Regions from separate parts of the Homo sapiens genome. Here regions 2, 3, 4 and 5 are each linked to region 1. Evidence: promoter capture Hi-C in human tissues and cell types (Jung and others, 2019). All regions are on one chromosome and are shown on one strand. Each heading gives the region's core, a stretch centred on a gene start or on the middle of the fragment in contact. The rest is flanking DNA. Distances are from core to core; before and after follow the strand shown.

Region 1 (3,168 bases), core at 203-2,702:
TGTCAAGGAGATGGAGGGCCACCAACTGAGCCAGAACCCTCTGCGGCCTGTGTCTCCGTTGAGCCCCCACCCTCAGACCTGCAGGGACTGGGAAATGCATCTGGGAGAAGGCACAGCCTCATTTTGCCTGTCACCCAGCGTCCAGCAAGGGAAGGCTGACAGCAGGCAGGCCACCAGGCAATTAGTTAGAGGAGGGAGCCAGGGCCAGGGCGTCGGGGGTGGGGAGAGTGAGAGTGAGCAGCTCTTCCTCTCCCTACTTCTGCCTTATGCAGGGTCTTGGAGACCCCTGAGTCTGCTCTGGAGCCCCCACCCCACTGAACATGTTGACTGTTTCCAGGCTCGGCCTGAGCTGCTGGTTCCCTCCCAGAGACCTATTCCCCAGCGACCCCGCTCCAATTCCCCAGGTAGGCACAGAGGGGGGTGGTTCCAGATTTTGCTCCACCCCTAGCCTGGGCGACCCACCCGTCCTGACCCCACCCTCCCTCATCTTACTCCCTTCAGTGGCTTGGAAAGGATGCCCCAAGATAAAGACCCACAGGCACCCTGGCTCTGACATATGGCGGGGTAGAAACACAGATACCTCCTGGCCATGATCCGACAACCCCATTCCCCGCAGCCCAGGCGCCCAACAAATCAGGACCCAACACCTCCAGCAGGTCTCCCGCTCCCGGGAGGTTGTAACCCTTTCATCTTTGACTCCAGACACAGAAAGGCAGATGCCCCAGACCCGCGCCCGGTGGCTGGGCCTGCGTGCAGTGGGGAAGGGGGCGACCCGGGACCCCTGTGCGTGCCCCGCTCCCAACTTCTTCACAGGACATACTTGTTTAGACCTTAAGACCCAGCTGGGGTGGAGGCGTCTTAGGGAGGGAGACCGGGCGATAACTGAAGAAAGTTTTGGGGGGAGAGTGCTAAGTCACTCTGAAAAAAAGGCCACTGTCGCTCCCACCTCCTGGAGGGGGCAGCTGCCGGACCGGGGATCTCCAAGCGGCACCTGAGTCCCCGGGGGCGGGGACGCGCGCCCAGCCCCTGCCGCGCCCCTGCCGCCCCCCGCCCGCGCCCGACCCGCCTCCGGGTCGCACTCACCAGGGCGCGGTTGAACCTCTCCTCCAGCTCTCCGGCCGCGGGCATCGGCTGCTTGGGAGGCGCGGGCTGCTTGGGGGGCGGCGCGGCGGGGCCCGCGGGCTGCTCGGCGCTGCCGGCCGCGTTGCCCATGGTGGTCCCCACCCAGCCGGCCAGGCGCCTCCAGCCTCGGAAATCCAGCTTTCCGGGGGACGGGGACGAGGCTCCCGGCCCGGGCGGGGGCGAGGGGGCAGCGGCTGGCGGTGGCGGCGGGGGTCTCGGCAGCGGGGGGCGCTCGGCTCAGCGGCGCGCAGGGGCCGGAGCGCGGCGTCCCATCGGGGCGGCCCCGTCCGTGGGACCGGGCGGCGAGCTGCAGGGTTGGGGGAGGAAGTCAGGCTGCAGGCCGCCGGGGCCAGAGGGCTGGGCCGGGGGCAGGAAGCTGCGGCGCTGGCTCCCCCCTCGGCGATTTTCGAACTTCTGCTGTCGCTCCCCGTGCGCGCAAACCGCAGTTCGCCGCCGCCGCCGCCGGGCACCCAGCCCCAGGGGGGCGGGCTGGAGGGAGGGGGCGGGCGCTGGCCGGGGGACCCCCGCAACCATGGCGGGCGGGGAGTGGGCTGCCGAGCCGCTTCACCTGCCGCAGAGGGGGCGGCCGGCGCCGCTTCACCTGCCGGAGCGGGAGGCCACCGAGGCGAGGCCGAGGCGGCGGCGCGCTCGGCGGCGCCTCCGGGTCCTAGAACCGCATCCTCCCGCTCGCCTCGGGCGAGGGATTGGCCGGGTCTGGGTGAAGGGGATCACGGCCTGGGGATTGGAGGGGCACATCTTCTCCGCACCGAGGATCTCAGCGACTGCGAGCACGGCTCGGAGACCCACGGTGGTGCAGCGTTGGGGCGCCAGGGCTGCGTTCCCGTCTCGCGTCCCGGACTGAGAAGGTGGGAACCCCCTTCCAGGCCCCCCACCTTTTATTTCTCTCCTCCCCTGCTTAGCCCAGAGACGAGCTGAGGACGAGGGGGAGCCATCTCCAAACAGGAACTCCTAAACAGGGTGGGGGGCGCGGACGCAGGCCAGTGGAGACCCCCGCCACCTGTCCCACCTCGACCAACCGTGCGCCTGTGCAGGGCACCCCTACAGGTTTTAGAATGGGGGCACCTATGGAATATGGCAGGCTGCGAGAAGCTGGGCCCGCCAAGGTGGTCCCAAGGAGGAGTGGGGGGTTGCGGAAAGGAGGATGAGAGCCAGCCACAAGGCTGGAAAAGGAGTGGGCACCGCAGAGGAGGGAAAAAGAATCTTGACACTGTCACCGCCAGGGATCTAGGGGGGCCTCTTACCTTGGAGAATAACAATCTCTGATGTCTGCTAATTACAGAAATACTTTCAGAGCTCTTTCATTCATCCTGACAATGGCCAGAGAAGGTAGGTATTGGTAGCCTTATTTTAGAGATGGGGAAACTGAGGCTGAGAGTAGGTAAGTAAGCTGTCCAAGGGCACTCAGCTAACAAAGGACAGAAGCAAGCCTCCTCACTGTCTACCTCCAAAACCTACACTGGCTTGGAGTTGCTGTCCTGGCCCTCCACTGCCCATCTCATGTAGGACGGGAGAGTATGGGGGGCTGGGGTCCCATCTATAGCCTGAATTTGAGACTTTCAGTTGCTCCTCTCATTCCCCATTTAATTTGTGGGGATCCCCAACTGACCCCTCCCTACACTTCCAGGGCACTGAGGAGGGAGGGCCCGCTGAAGGAGCCCCGAATTATCTCTAGGCCAGGTCAGGAGCCATTAGTGTCCCCTCCCCTGACAGCATCCTCCTCCTTCTGCCCTCACATTCAGAGCCACTGACAAGACTTTAAGCAAGAGACGGAGAGTTAACATCTAATCTGGAGGAAGACCCTGGAAGGAGCCAGCCCCTTCCCCCAGGCTGACCTGGTTTAAGCCTTTCTTCTGCCAAGGTCACCAGCACCCCAGATGGGTGAGAGATGTGATCACTGGTTTCGTGGCCTGACCAAGGACCTCCAAGGTGAGTCAAAGCAGAATTCTCCTTGGGCATGCAGGGAAAATGATCCATTCCCTGCACACTGCCATATTCTCCTTCTCAGACAGACCAGAGCCTTGCCCT
Region 2 (3,168 bases), core at 226-2,725, 430 kb before region 1:
ATGGTCTCCAGGAGGACTTATTTGGCCTCCGGTGCCAACTGTGGGTCAAAGGAGCCCAGCTCCCAAAACCTTTGACACCATCTCTTTTTGTTGCAGAAACAGCCGGCCAGATGGTCAGCTCGCTTTGCCAGGTGCCCAGATCCCTGCCAGCACGGCTGTCTGAAAATGTCAGCAGAGTAAAGGTGTGTTCCCACAGCAGCTTTCGAGAGGTACCAAGAAGCCTTCCTCTGCAGAGCCCACCGTCTCTTCCCTGGCACGTCCTTCCCTCCCTAACTCTCCTTGTCGTCTCCTCCCCGGGCTGATACCTCCTACCCCAATGTCTGCTCCTGATCTAATAGTCAGCACTATTTGAATATCCCCATGTGCCAGGCACTATACCAAGCCTATTGCAAGCCTCTTCTCATTGAACCCTCACCACTGCATCCTATAAAGCAGGTACCATCTCTTCTTTTTATACGCAGGGAAGGGAGCCTTGGGGCCTTCCTTAACAAGCCCCTGGTCACACAAATGCTAAACGGTGGAGCTTGGATTCCAAACAGGATGTGGTGGCGCCAAAGCCTAGCTCTTTAGCTGGCTCTGTGAAGACAGGCCTTTGCCTTCTAAGCTTCATACAGGGGTCTTGGGGTCTTCTTTCTTTTAGCATTGGCTTTTTCAGTCTGCCTACCTTCATCTTGGATGGGAAACTAAGTCAAAACAAGGGTGTTTCCAAGAGTGGAGCTGGCAGCCTCTGTCACAGGCGGATGGGAGCCCAAGGCGTCATCTTCATCTAATGCTAAAATGCTTCACAGGGATTAAACACACTGCCTGCTGCAGTGGTTCCTAGGGGGCCAAGTGGGGGCTGGGTGGCTTAATTTGGTGAGGTGTGAATGTGATGGCGGGGGGAACTTTTGTGAGGGATACACACCCAGGACATGCAGGTAAAGGAAATCCAGACTGGATCCACCTATAGTGCCAAACACGCCCACATCTAGTCTGGCTTGACTAGACTTGGACATGTTTAATCAAGCTGCCCTGATTTACTGCTGGCTGCATTCTCCAGGCACAGCGCCATCTGCAGGGAAGCCCTGCACCAGCAAGGGTGGGGGGGCTGGTCCTAGGGCCTGTCCCAAGACCCTGTGATGGTCAGCATTTAAGGTAAAGTTTGTGAGCTACAAAGCCGGCACCGATTGCTGTCCTTTCAAGCTTAGGGCAGTCGTACAGGCACCACCTCTTCTCAACAACCAACCTCCTGAAATGATTTGGGCAGATATTATCATGCCCATTTTACAGATGACGAAACTGGGCCTCAGAAAGCCAGTCACCCCCCAGCGATGGTGCCAGGCAGGATTCCAACTCAGGCTCTTTGACAAAAAACTCTGGGCTCTACATCTGCCTCTCCTGATGCAGAAGAAAGAGAAGAAGTGTGGAGGGTGAAGGATGAAGCGAAAAGCTGCTGGCTGGATGGACTGAGAGCCAGGATTCGTGGCTTGGTTCTGTTCGCACTGTCTCTGCTGCCAAGCCCTACTCACCCCAGCCAGGAAGAGCAAACATTCCCAGACACAACATCCTCCTGGGTCTGTCATCAGGTTGACACAGAGAAAACTGAGCTCCTTACAGGAGACTGTCAGGGTGGGCTGGGGTGGAGTTTTTAAGTGTCTCAATAACTGGGAAGATAATTGAAGACATTATATTTTTTACTCTTTTCAGTGCCTGTCTCAGCAGCAAGCACTTGTCAGCCAGATCTTGGAGGCCAAAGCCTGTCTACCCTAACACAAAGAAGACACTCAAGTTGTCTAAATTCATCGACTTTTCTGAAATTTGAAATCTGCAATTTCCCGAGCTGTGTTCTGTTGTTAAGTGGCTGTCCAAATTCCTGAGCTCATGTTTAAGTGTCGCTGATAAAGAAGGAAACAATCCAATCAGGTTTACATTGGCGGTTCAATTAGGCACATATGAAGTAGTCACTCCAAAGCGGTTCACAGCAAATTTATTCCTGGGACAACCTTCTTTTACCACCCAACTTAAATCTCCCAGGAATTTGTTCCAAGAATAGAAGCTAACTGCTATAATATCCCGAGCTAATTGCAATACTATCCTGATTGGAGCCTAATTAGAAGGCAGATCTGCCTCACTAGCCAACACCACCTCTCCTCCTACACAGAGCCCTCAGAGATAGATTCTCTTGTCCTAGACAACTTTGTTATTTGATTATCTACACTGCAGCTCTTTCTTGCTAATTTACCACTTTTACATATTTATGCCCCCTAATTAGTCAACAAGTATTTATTAAACACCTACTGCATGCTCATCCCATGCATCCCAAGCAAACAGAAGGATGTTTGCTTCTGGTTCCAAAGAGAAATACATGCTTCTTTGGGGTGCTGGTCTCTTTTGGGGTCTTCAGTCAGATGAACAAGTAACGTATATGAGCAGAAGCTCATGCCTGTAATCCCAGCACTTTAGGAGGCCAAGGTGGGCAGATTGCTAGAGCCCAGGAGTTCAAGACCAGCCTGGACAACATAGTGAAACCCCACCTCTACTAAAAATACAAAAAATTAGCTGGGCATGGTGGTGTGCACCTGTCATCCCAGCTACTTGGGAGGCTGAGGTGGGAGGACCACCTGAGCTCGGAAAGTCAAGCCTGCAGTGAGCCGAGATGGCACCAATGCACTGGTGCATTAGACAATGCCTGGACAATGAACCTTGTCTCAAAAAGTAAAATAAAATCATACATATGCAGGAGTATTTGCACATAAAACACACGCCTGGAAAAATACATGTCTGGGGTATTTGCATATGCCTTGTGGAGAATTTCTAGGCTCGGTTAAAAGGAGAAAGAAACTAAATTATATTGTTCTGGAACTCTTCTCCACATCACTCAGCCAAGGAGCATAAGGAGAGTGCTTTCATTTCATTCATTAACTCACCAAATATTTGCTGAACATTGACCCTGTGCTTGGCCTTGGAAGAGAATTTTGCAAAAACACAGTCCCTTATTTCAGATTTGACAACACAGTGGGGAGACTGTATCTTTTTTTTAACGCAAATCATAGCACAGAGGCAACATTCAGGACTGATGAGGAAATTTGGCTCTTGGGAAATGGTCAGAACAGCTCATTCTGCTAAGAGCAGAGCATCTTGAAAAGTTTTACCCTGCTCGTTGCCCCACTTAGCCCTCTGCAGGTCGAG
Region 3 (3,168 bases), core at 336-2,835, 410 kb before region 1:
CTTGAACTCCTGGGCTCAAGTGATTCCCCCCGCTTCAGCCTCCCAAAGTGTAGGGAGTACAGGCATGAGCCACCACACCTGGCACATTTCATGTTATTTATTGGTTGACTCTCTTCCCACTAGCAACGTAAACTCCAAGAACACAAGGACTTTATCTGTCTTGGTTTAAGCCTAAAACCAAGTCTGGAACTTAGTAGATGCTCAGTGGCTCACACCTGTAATCCTAGCAATTTGGGAGGTCGAGGTGGGCAGATCACTTGAAGTCAGGAGTTCCAGACCAGCCTGGCCAACATGGTGAAACCCAGTCTCTATTAAAAATACAAAAATTAGGTGGGCATGGCGGCGCATGCCTGTAATCCCAGTTACTTGGGAGGCTGGGGCAGGAGAATCACTTGAACCCGGGAGGTGGAGGTCACAGTGAGCTGAGATCACACCACTGTACTCCAGCCTGGGCAACAGAGTGAGACTCTGTCTCAATAAAAAAAAAGACATTCTAGCAAGGAGATGGTGGGAGATATTATGGTTGGTACTGGAGAGAGGGAGGCAGACATCTCATTTAAATGTCTGTATTTACAAGTGAGACATTTGGCAGTAAATTTCAGTTCCAGCATTCAGAAAGCCAATAACAACATACTTGTTTATTGGCAAATACCAATAAAACTGCATTTCTGAGCTCATCGTCCTCTAACAAGTAAGTTAGCACTTCCCAGGCCTCATCAATCTGCTCTCTGTCATTACTGTCAACCATAAAAATCAGACCTAGAAAGAAATCACGAGCATGTTAGTGATCTGAGCCTGGAAAACGCAGCTGTTTATGTATCTTCACGACTTCTCCCTGCTTATGTGTGTGACTTCACAAAGGCAATCGATACGGAAGGATACATCATCTCTAGAGTTAGGAGGCCTGCTATACACTCAACTTACATTTTGCAGAAGCATCACAGCCCTGCACCATATTAACAACAAGAATATATCCTGAAAAAGTTAGTCTCGTTTTCTAATCACTTAATTTCCACGTCAGGGAAAAAAACTTTTTTTTAATTAATTAATTTATTTATTTTGAGATGGAGTCTTGCTGCAGCCCAGGCTGGAATGCAGTGGCGTGACCTCGGCTCACTGCAACCTCCACCTCCTGGGTTCAAGCAATTCTCCTGTCTCAGCCTCCCGATTAGCTGCGAATATAGGCACACCATCACACCCTGCTTATTTTTGTATTTTTAGTAGAGACGAGGTTTCACCATATTGGTCAGGCTGGTCTCGAACTCCTGACCTCAGGTGATCTGCCTGCCTTAGCCTCCCAAAGTGCTAGGATTATAGGCGTGAGACACTGCCCCTGGCCAAAACATTGTTTTTTAAAACATGTAAAGTTTAGTATAATAAAAGCATTCTAGGGCTAGCCCTCTAAAGCAAAACTTGAGACAAAAGCTTAAGTGCAGGTACGTTCTTTGGGAAGTGATCCCAGAGATCAGGAATGAGGGGCTGAGGGAGTAAAACAGGGCAGGAGGGACAGACAATAGAAGGACGAGTTATCAAGCTGGGCCCCCACTATGGGACCACTGCTCACCGTTGTTGGACATTCTAAGAAGCCATATCAAATGCCTGTCAGAACTGTCCACCCAGAGGACAAAAGAGGAAACAAGTATCCTTCAGTACCCATTCCCTGTTGCTCAAGAACAACTCAACAGGTGTTAGGCCACCCATACTTCTGGGTCACATTGGTATGAACACCAAGAGATTCCTATGGGCATCTTATAGTAATGAATTTGGCTGGTCTTTGTCCCCAGTTTCTAGAAGGTAGCCTCTAAACCCTTGGACTTTTCAGAGTGATAGCAGTATCTTTTTTTTTTTTTTTTTTTTTTTTTTTTTGAGACGGAGTCTGGCTCTGTCCGCCAGGCTGGAGTGCAGTGGCGCGATCTTGGCTCACTGCAAGCTCCGCCTCTCGGGTTTGCACCATTCTCCTGCCTCAGCCTCCCGAGCAGCTGGGACTACAGGCGCCCGCTACCGTACCCGGCTAATTTTTTGTATTTTCAGTAGAGACAAGGTTTCACCATGTTAGCCAGGATGGTTTCGATCTCCTGACCTTGTGATCCGCCCGCCTCGGCCTCCCAAAGTGCTGGGATTACAGGCGTGAGCCACCGCGCCCGATCAGCAGTATCTTTGTTATCATAGCGGGCCCACACCTCTAAGTTGATGCTAACAAGGTGACTCAGAGTGGGCCCCTAGATAGTGGATGCTAACAAGATCACCTCTGGGGAAATGAGGGTGCTAAAGTTTGAGTCACATGGCCAATGATTCAATCAATCGTACCTATGCAAGGAAGCCCCAATAAAAATGACAAATACTGAAGCTCAGGAGCACGTCCCTGGTTGGCAATACTCTATACATTGTCACGCATCGATGTGCTGGAAAGGTAACAGCCCCTGACTCCACGGGGAGAGAACAATGAAAGCTTTGCGTTTGGTGTCCTCCCAGATCTATGTGTCTTTCCCTTTGACTGGTTCATTTATATCCTTTTGCTTTATTGATCAATTAATAAAACTGTAGTTGTAAGCATAGCATGTCCCTGAATTCTGTGAATCATTCTGACAAGTGATCAAACCTGAGGGGGTAGTGGAAATCGCCAAATTTGTAGCCATCTGGCCAGAAGTGAGGGTGGGCTGAGGACCCCCAAACCTGTTGCCAGCTGGTGGCTGAAGTTGGGGATTCTTGTGGAGGATGGTGCCCTCAACCTGTGAAATAAAGTCCAACTCCAGGGGGTTGGTGCCGGAAGTCTCTGCAGCATTCCATACTATAGCATCAAATACATCCCAAAAAGTAAAAGATACCTGGGGCAGGCCAAAGAAAGGCACCACCCCATCACACCTGAGTGAAGGTGACCAAAACCTGCACAGACCCAGTCACTGCTACATTGGCTGGAGGAAGCTGTGGGGCCAAAAGCATCTCCAGGGAGGGGCACAGGTGGCATCCAACACACCCTCCAAGCACAAGAAGGGGAGACGCCTTTGGCAGTAGTTCATGTGACATTAATGATAACAACAATCTGTCAGCCAGGTGTGGTGGCTCAGGCCTGTAATCCCAGCACTTCAGGAAGCCAAGGTGGGCAGATGACTTGAGGTCAGGGGTTCGAAACCAGCCAGGCCAACTTGGCAAAACCCCATCTCTACTAAA
Region 4 (3,168 bases), core at 669-3,168, 310 kb after region 1:
CACACACCTGTAGTCCCAGCTATTCAGGAGGCTGAGGTGAGGGGATCACTTAAGGCTGGGAGGTTGAGGCTGCAGTGAGTCGTGGTTGCGCCACTGCACTCCAGCCTGGGCAACAGTGAGACCCTGTCTCAAAAGACAAAAAAAAAAAAAAAAAAAAAAAGAACATATCCTGGTGTGGAGTAGGGGACGCTGCTCTGACAGAGGCTCGGGGGCCTGAGCTGGCTCTGTGAGCTGGGGAGGAGGCAGACAGCCAGGCCTTGTCTGCAAGCAGACCTGGCAGCATTGGGCTGGCCGCCCCCCAGGGCCTCCTCTTCATGCCCAGTGAATGACTCACCTTGGCACAGACACAATGTTCGGGGTGGGCACAGTGCCTGCTTCCCGCCGCACCCCAGCCCCCCTCAAATGCCTTCCGAGAAGCCCATTGAGCAGGGGGCTTGCATTGCACCCCAGCCTGACAGCCTGGCATCTTGGGATAAAAGCAGCACAGCCCCCTAGGGGCTGCCCTTGCTGTGTGGCGCCACCGGCGGTGGAGAACAAGGCTCTATTCAGCCTGTGCCCAGGAAAGGGGATCAGGGGATGCCCAGGCATGGACAGTGGGTGGCAGGGGGGGAGAGGAGGGCTGTCTGCTTCCCAGAAGTCCAAGGACACAAATGGGTGAGGGGACTGGGCAGGGTTCTGACCCTGTGGGACCAGAGTGGAGGGCGTAGATGGACCTGAAGTCTCCAGGGACAACAGGGCCCAGGTCTCAGGCTCCTAGTTGGGCCCAGTGGCTCCAGCGTTTCCAAACCCATCCATCCCCAGAGGTTCTTCCCATCTCTCCAGGCTGATGTGTGGGAACTCGAGGAAATAAATCTCCAGTGGGAGACGGAGGGGTGGCCAGGGAAACGGGGCGCTGCAGGAATAAAGACGAGCCAGCACAGCCAGCTCATGTGTAACGGCTTTGTGGAGCTGTCAAGGCCTGGTCTCTGGGAGAGAGGCACAGGGAGGCCAGACAAGGAAGGGGTGACCTGGAGGGACAGATCCAGGGGCTAAAGTCCTGATAAGGCAAGAGAGTGCCGGCCCCCTCTTGCCCTATCAGGACCTCCACTGCCACATAGAGGCCATGATTGACCCTTAGACAAAGGGCTGGTGTCCAATCCCAGCCCCCAGCCCCAGAACTCCAGGGAATGAATGGGCAGAGAGCAGGAATGTGGGACATCTGTGTTCAAGGGAAGGACTCCAGGAGTCTGCTGGGAATGAGGCCTAGTAGGAAATGAGGTGGCCCTTGAGGGTACAGAACAGGTTCATTCTTCGCCAAATTCCCAGCACCTTGCAGGCACTTACAGCTGAGTGAGATAATGCCTGGGTTATGAAATCAAAAAGTTGGAAAGCAGGTCAGAGGTCATCTGGTACAGCCCTTCCTTCCCTTTTTTTTTTTTTTTTTTGTGAGACAAGGTCTCTCTCTGTTGCCCAGGCTGGAGTGGCGCAAACACAGCTCACTGCAGCCTCAACCTACTGGGCTCAAGCAATCCTCCAGCCTCAGCCTCCCAAAGTGCTGGGATTACAAGCATGAGCCACCCCACTCAGCCCTTTCCTTCCTTTTTAATTGATGCATAATAATTGTAAGTATTCATCATGGTCCAACCAACCCTTTCTTGACCCACCTTCCTAGAGAGAGGGTCCTCTTGCTTCAGCGGTCAGGGCCCCAGACCCATGGTCTGGCTCCAGGTACCACCTGCCTCATGCAGGAGTTGGCGTGCCCAGGAAGCTCTGCCTCTGGGCACAGTGACCTCAGTGGGGTGAGGGGAGCTCTCCCCATAGCTGGGCTGCGGCCCAACCCCACCCCCTCAGGCTATGCCAGGGGGTGTTGCCAGGGGCACCCGGGCATCGCCAGTCTAGCCCACTCCTTCATAAAGCCCTCGCATCCCAGGAGCGAGCAGAGCCAGAGCAGGATGGAGAGGAGACGCATCACCTCCGCTGCTCGCCGCTCCTACGTCTCCTCAGGGGAGATGATGGTGGGGGGCCTGGCTCCTGGCCGCCGTCTGGGTCCTGGCACCCGCCTCTCCCTGGCTCGAATGCCCCCTCCACTCCCGACCCGGGTGGATTTCTCCCTGGCTGGGGCACTCAATGCTGGCTTCAAGGAGACCCGGGCCAGTGAGCGGGCAGAGATGATGGAGCTCAATGACCGCTTTGCCAGCTACATCGAGAAGGTTCGCTTCCTGGAACAGCAAAACAAGGCGCTGGCTGCTGAGCTGAACCAGCTGCGGGCCAAGGAGCCCACCAAGCTGGCAGACGTCTACCAGGCTGAGCTGCGAGAGCTGCGGCTGCGGCTCGATCAACTCACCGCCAACAGCGCCCGGCTGGAGGTTGAGAGGGACAATCTGGCACAGGACCTGGCCACTGTGAGGCAGAAGTGAGGAGGGGATGGGGAAGGGGGGCCTTGTGAGCAGAAGGGGCTGAATCCCCAAGAAGGAGTGCCCGAGAAGTCTCAGGGAGGGGCCGAACCTCCCTGCTCCCTGGGCCTCCCTACCTCTTGATGGGGCACTATCCTTGCCCCCCAACATGATGGGAGGGACCAGAAACAGGCCCAGGGCCCCGGGGATCTGATGCCCGCATGCCTTCTGCCAGGAGTCCAGGGTCCCCTCAGCACCTCCCTACTGGGGAAAGCAGTGCAGGAGCAGCGGGGCCCCTGTGTTTCATTCATGGCTGGGCTTTGTGACTGTGGGCAGCGAGCTCACCTATTCTGAGCCTGTGTCCATATAAAGGAGGAGTTGGAAGCGGAGAAGGTTGATGTCCATGAGGGAGATTGGATTCTGGGGTGAAGAAAGTGAGGGAAAGAGCAGGCAGGTCTGGGCGCAAAGCACAGGTGACTGCCTGCCACCAGCTTGTGACCCCCATCAAGTTACTTTGACTTGCACAGCTGTGAAGCGGTGGTCATAATAAAATTCATTTCAAAAGGTGGTTACCTGGGATCAGAGGAATCCCCAGGGGCATGGCGCTTCACTGAGCTGACAGGACATGCATGTGTGCCTTCAAGTGCAGGAGGACATGTGCGTGTGTGTGTGTGTGTGTGCAACAGTGAGTGTATGCTTGTGGATGCGCCTGTGTGAGCAGAAGCAGGTGCACCAACCCTGATAAGGCACCTTAGTAATGAGTTAAGGCAAAAGCCCACATCTGCTCATCCTCCAG
Region 5 (3,168 bases), core at 362-2,861, 270 kb before region 1:
GATCATTGACTTTTGGCCATCTGGGTTCCATGAACACAGGGAACCATGTTATCTCAGAGTAGCTGAGGCAGAAGGACATTCCAGAGGCACCCAAGTCCCATGCTCAGCATTTATAGTTTCCTGGGGGCTTTTTGGTACACATTTTCTCTGAATCCTGAGGACCCGGCATCAGATGGGTGGGCCATTTGATTGCAGCTTTTTTCTTTCTTTCTTTCTTTTTTTCGACGGAGTTTACTCTTGTTCCCCAGCCTGGAGTGCAGTGGCATGATCTCGGCTCACCGCAACCTCTGCCTCCCAGGTTCAAGCGATTCTCCTGCCTCAGCCTCCCGAGTAGCTGGGATTACAGGCATACACCACCATGCCCGGCTAGTTTTGTATTTTTAGTAGAGATGGGGGTTTCTCTGTGTTGATCAGGCTGGTCTCCAACTCCCGACCTCAGGTGATCCACCCACCTCGGCCTCCCAAAGTGCTGGGATTACGGGCGTGAGCCGCCGCACCTGGCTGATTGCAGTTTTAAAGAGCCCCAAAGAACACTGTCTCTGCTTGCCACTTATAGTCGTATTCCTTTGAAAAGTGAATGCTGTTTACCTTCAATGTCCTCCCATTAATATGCAGTATATTTAAGTTGTTTTCAGCCTTATTGGCAGCTTGGCTTAATGACAGGAGCTCCACAGTTGCCCCAGCACTTAAGAGTTGTATACCCCAACTTCCCACAGTGTGTGAAGTGGAGGTACTTACCCCGTGCCTTGTTTTTATTTTATTAATCAATTCATTCAACAGCTTATTTTTTGAGCACCAGTGTGTGACAAACACTGTTCCAGGTACTAGAAATACAATGGTGAATGGGTCAGGCAACGGTCCTGTTTTCATTCATTCAGAGTTTGGTCCTTGTTAGAATCCTCTGGGATATGGGACAAGAATACAGGAAAGCTGGGTGATACTGGATGGAAGGAAGGAGGGAGGAAAGAAAGATAGCTAGTGTTCACTGACTCCACAATTCTGCCCTCATCCACTAGCCCTGAGTCTGGGAATCACAAGCTAAAAGTTTCTCACCCTTCATCTGGTATTTAATTGCTTCAAAGCTCCAACCCCCACCACTCCACCCATCACAGAAATCCAGCTTTCCTCAGGTGGACAGAGGTGCAGTTTCCTCAGTCAGCACTCACATGCCTGAAAGATCAGCTGCCTTTCTGAATCAGAGGATAACTTTGTCATTCTTTTCCAATTGAAAAAACATGACTCATCAATTGGTACAGCAGTTGGATGGCTTAAAGCCAGGCTGTGGCTCTGAACAGCCAGTTACACAATTCAGGCAGTGGAGAGAAGGCCGTGGGGAGTGGCTGAGGAGTCCCTCAAGAGAAGAGGTTGCTGTTCACTGATGGTGGAGTGTTTTGAGAGTGGTGGAACCAGGTTATCCCTTTCTTCTTTTAACGTAAGTCTCATCCAAGTCATTCTCTTTTTTTGCTTCCTTGATCTCTGGAGGAAGTGAAATTGGACATATAGAGAAGGCCAGGCAGTATAATGCAGGAAACCAACCGGAACTGTTCCTTCCTAACTATGTTGGAACATTTAAGAAAGTATAGCTCTGAGACTTTAGGAGCATTGGTAGGACCTGGTCTCAGCTGGTTGGGGCTATAAACCTGATTGGCAGAACTGTTTCTTGTTGGTTTCAGACCTTCTGTGATGAAATGGAGCTTCCGAGTACCTCTAAAGAAGAAGTAATAGTTTGTCTGAATTTGAGCCAAAGACCTGAGGCCTTTTGGTCCAGGGAAAGATGCAGGAGTTGGGATGAAGAAACCAGAGAGTTCTGTCCCTTACCCGAGACCCATTGCTACTGAGCCTCAGTTTTGTCCTCTGTAAAACAGGGATAATCACTCTCTCACGGGATTGCTGTGAGAATTAAATGAGGTTAGAGAGGGACATCAGAGAAGCTTGCTTTCTGCACTCTGGAGAGCTATGTGAAGGCGAATGAATACACAGGGTGGCAGTAGACTTGGTGTGGTTTGGGGCTTCCTAAATGGCACCAGTCACCTTTCCCCTGCTAAGATTTCACCCGTCATGTTCAAGAGCCCTTTGGTACTGTTGCCCAGCTTTGCCTCACTCCCTTCAGGTAGGTCTCCTTGAAGCCACACCTCTCTTCACTTTGGTTCTTTGTGTCAATGAAGAGCGTTTTGAGGACAGAAAGTGGAACCAGTTCCATAGGATGGTAGATTCAGAATCTGGGCCACCAGGGTGGGTGACGCAGTACTGTCCCCACAGTCAAGAGACACAAAGCCTCCTTCTGATTCCCGCCGTGAGTTCTTATGTCACTGACCATCTGAGCCCTGCCTCCCTGAGCATGATGGAACAGATACAGATAGGTGGGGTGCTATGGCTGCCTACAAACAGAGGTGTCCTGCATTGTGGCTGGAACCCCAGAGGCTCAGTCCTGTCTTGTGAATTTTCAAGTGGCTCTTCTGCTGGATTTCTCTGAGCTCTTGTCAGTCATTTTGTGGCATTTCTGACTCTGTTTTAGGCCAAGTGACCCTTCTCTTGTCTGGCCCTGTCTCTCTTAGCTTCAGTTTATTATTATTAATTTTTTTTTTTGAGATGGAGTCTCGCTCTGTTGCCCAAGCTGGGGTGCAGTGGCACAATCTTGGCTCACTGCAAGCTCCACCTCCTGGGTCCACGCCATTCTCCTGCCTCAGCCTCCCAAGTAGCTGGGACTACAGGTGCCCGCCCGGCTAATTTTTTGTATTTTTAGTAGAGATGGGGTTTCACCGTGTTAGCCAGGATGGTCTCGATCTCCTGACCTCGTGATCCACCCGCCTCGGCCTCCCAAAGTGCTGGGATTACAGGCGTGAGCCACCGCGCCCAGCCAGCTTCAGTTTATTATTTATTTATTTATTTGAGACATAAATTATTATTATTATTATTATTTTTTTATTTTATCTTTTTTTTTTTGAGACGGAGTCTCTCTCTGTCGCCTAGGCTGGAGTGCAGTGGCGGGATCTCGGCTCACTGCAAGCTCCGCCTCCCAGGTTCACGCCATTCTCCTGCCTCAGCCTCCCGAGTAGCTGGGACTACAGGCGCTCACCACTGCACCCGGCTAATTTTTTTGTATTTTTAGTAGAGACGGGGTTTCACCGTGTTAGCCAGGATGGTCTCGATCTCCTGACCTCGTGATCC

Evidence for each region. The method cuts DNA at HindIII sites, captures the fragments that hold promoters and counts their contacts. A contact is called where the count stands out against the background at its distance.
Region 2: a fragment that was not itself captured here is called in contact with the fragment with the promoter of FMNL1 in region 1 in 1 of the 25 tissues and cell types used here (dorsolateral prefrontal cortex).
Region 3: a fragment that was not itself captured here is called in contact with the fragment with the promoter of FMNL1 in region 1 in 1 of the 25 tissues and cell types used here (hippocampus).
Region 4: the fragment with the promoter of GFAP here is called in contact with the fragment with the promoter of FMNL1 in region 1 in 2 of the 25 tissues and cell types used here (lymphoblastoid cells and mesenchymal stem cells).
Region 5: a contact is called between a fragment that was not itself captured here and the fragment with the promoter of FMNL1 in region 1, in 2 of the 25 tissues and cell types used here (hippocampus and mesenchymal stem cells).

Annotation. Positions count from the first base shown.
Region 1 is chr17:45,220,169-45,223,336 of GRCh38, reverse strand. It overlaps FMNL1 (formin like 1), which reads right to left and starts at 1,452. Exons shown (of 27, transcript NM_005892.4): 1 at 1,084-1,452. The coding sequence starts at 1,212. FMNL1-DT (FMNL1 divergent transcript) reads left to right here and starts at 1,572. Exons shown (of 3, transcript NR_147507.1): 1 at 1,572-1,988; 2 at 2,883-3,069. RefSeq lists enhancers at 1-413, 414-914 and silencers at 761-1,055, 978-1,087, 1,368-1,417, 1,428-1,877. The HindIII fragment of the contact is 26,209 bases long and covers 1-3,168 here.
Region 2 is chr17:45,646,732-45,649,899 of GRCh38, reverse strand. All of the region lies in intron 3 of LINC02210-CRHR1 (LINC02210-CRHR1 readthrough), which reads right to left. Among named protein-coding and RNA genes, the nearest start is that of LINC02210-CRHR1, 28 kb to the right of the region's middle. The HindIII fragment of the contact is 3,350 bases long and covers 1-3,150 here.
Region 3 is chr17:45,630,641-45,633,808 of GRCh38, reverse strand. All of the region lies in intron 3 of LINC02210-CRHR1 (LINC02210-CRHR1 readthrough), which reads right to left. The region is part of intron 5 of LINC02210 (long intergenic non-protein coding RNA 2210); the gene reads right to left. It also overlaps the pseudogene ARF2P. Among named protein-coding and RNA genes, the nearest start is that of LINC02210-CRHR1, 12 kb to the right of the region's middle. The HindIII fragment of the contact is 3,614 bases long and covers 1-3,168 here.
Region 4 is chr17:44,914,250-44,917,417 of GRCh38, reverse strand. It overlaps GFAP (glial fibrillary acidic protein), which reads left to right and starts at 1,918. Exons shown (of 9, transcript NM_002055.5): 1 at 1,918-2,392. The coding sequence starts at 1,932. The HindIII fragment of the contact is 9,658 bases long and covers 1-3,168 here.
Region 5 is chr17:45,485,992-45,489,159 of GRCh38, reverse strand. All of the region lies in intron 1 of PLEKHM1 (pleckstrin homology and RUN domain containing M1), which reads left to right. Among named protein-coding and RNA genes, the nearest start is that of PLEKHM1, 3.1 kb to the left of the region's middle. The HindIII fragment of the contact is 3,459 bases long and covers 1-3,168 here.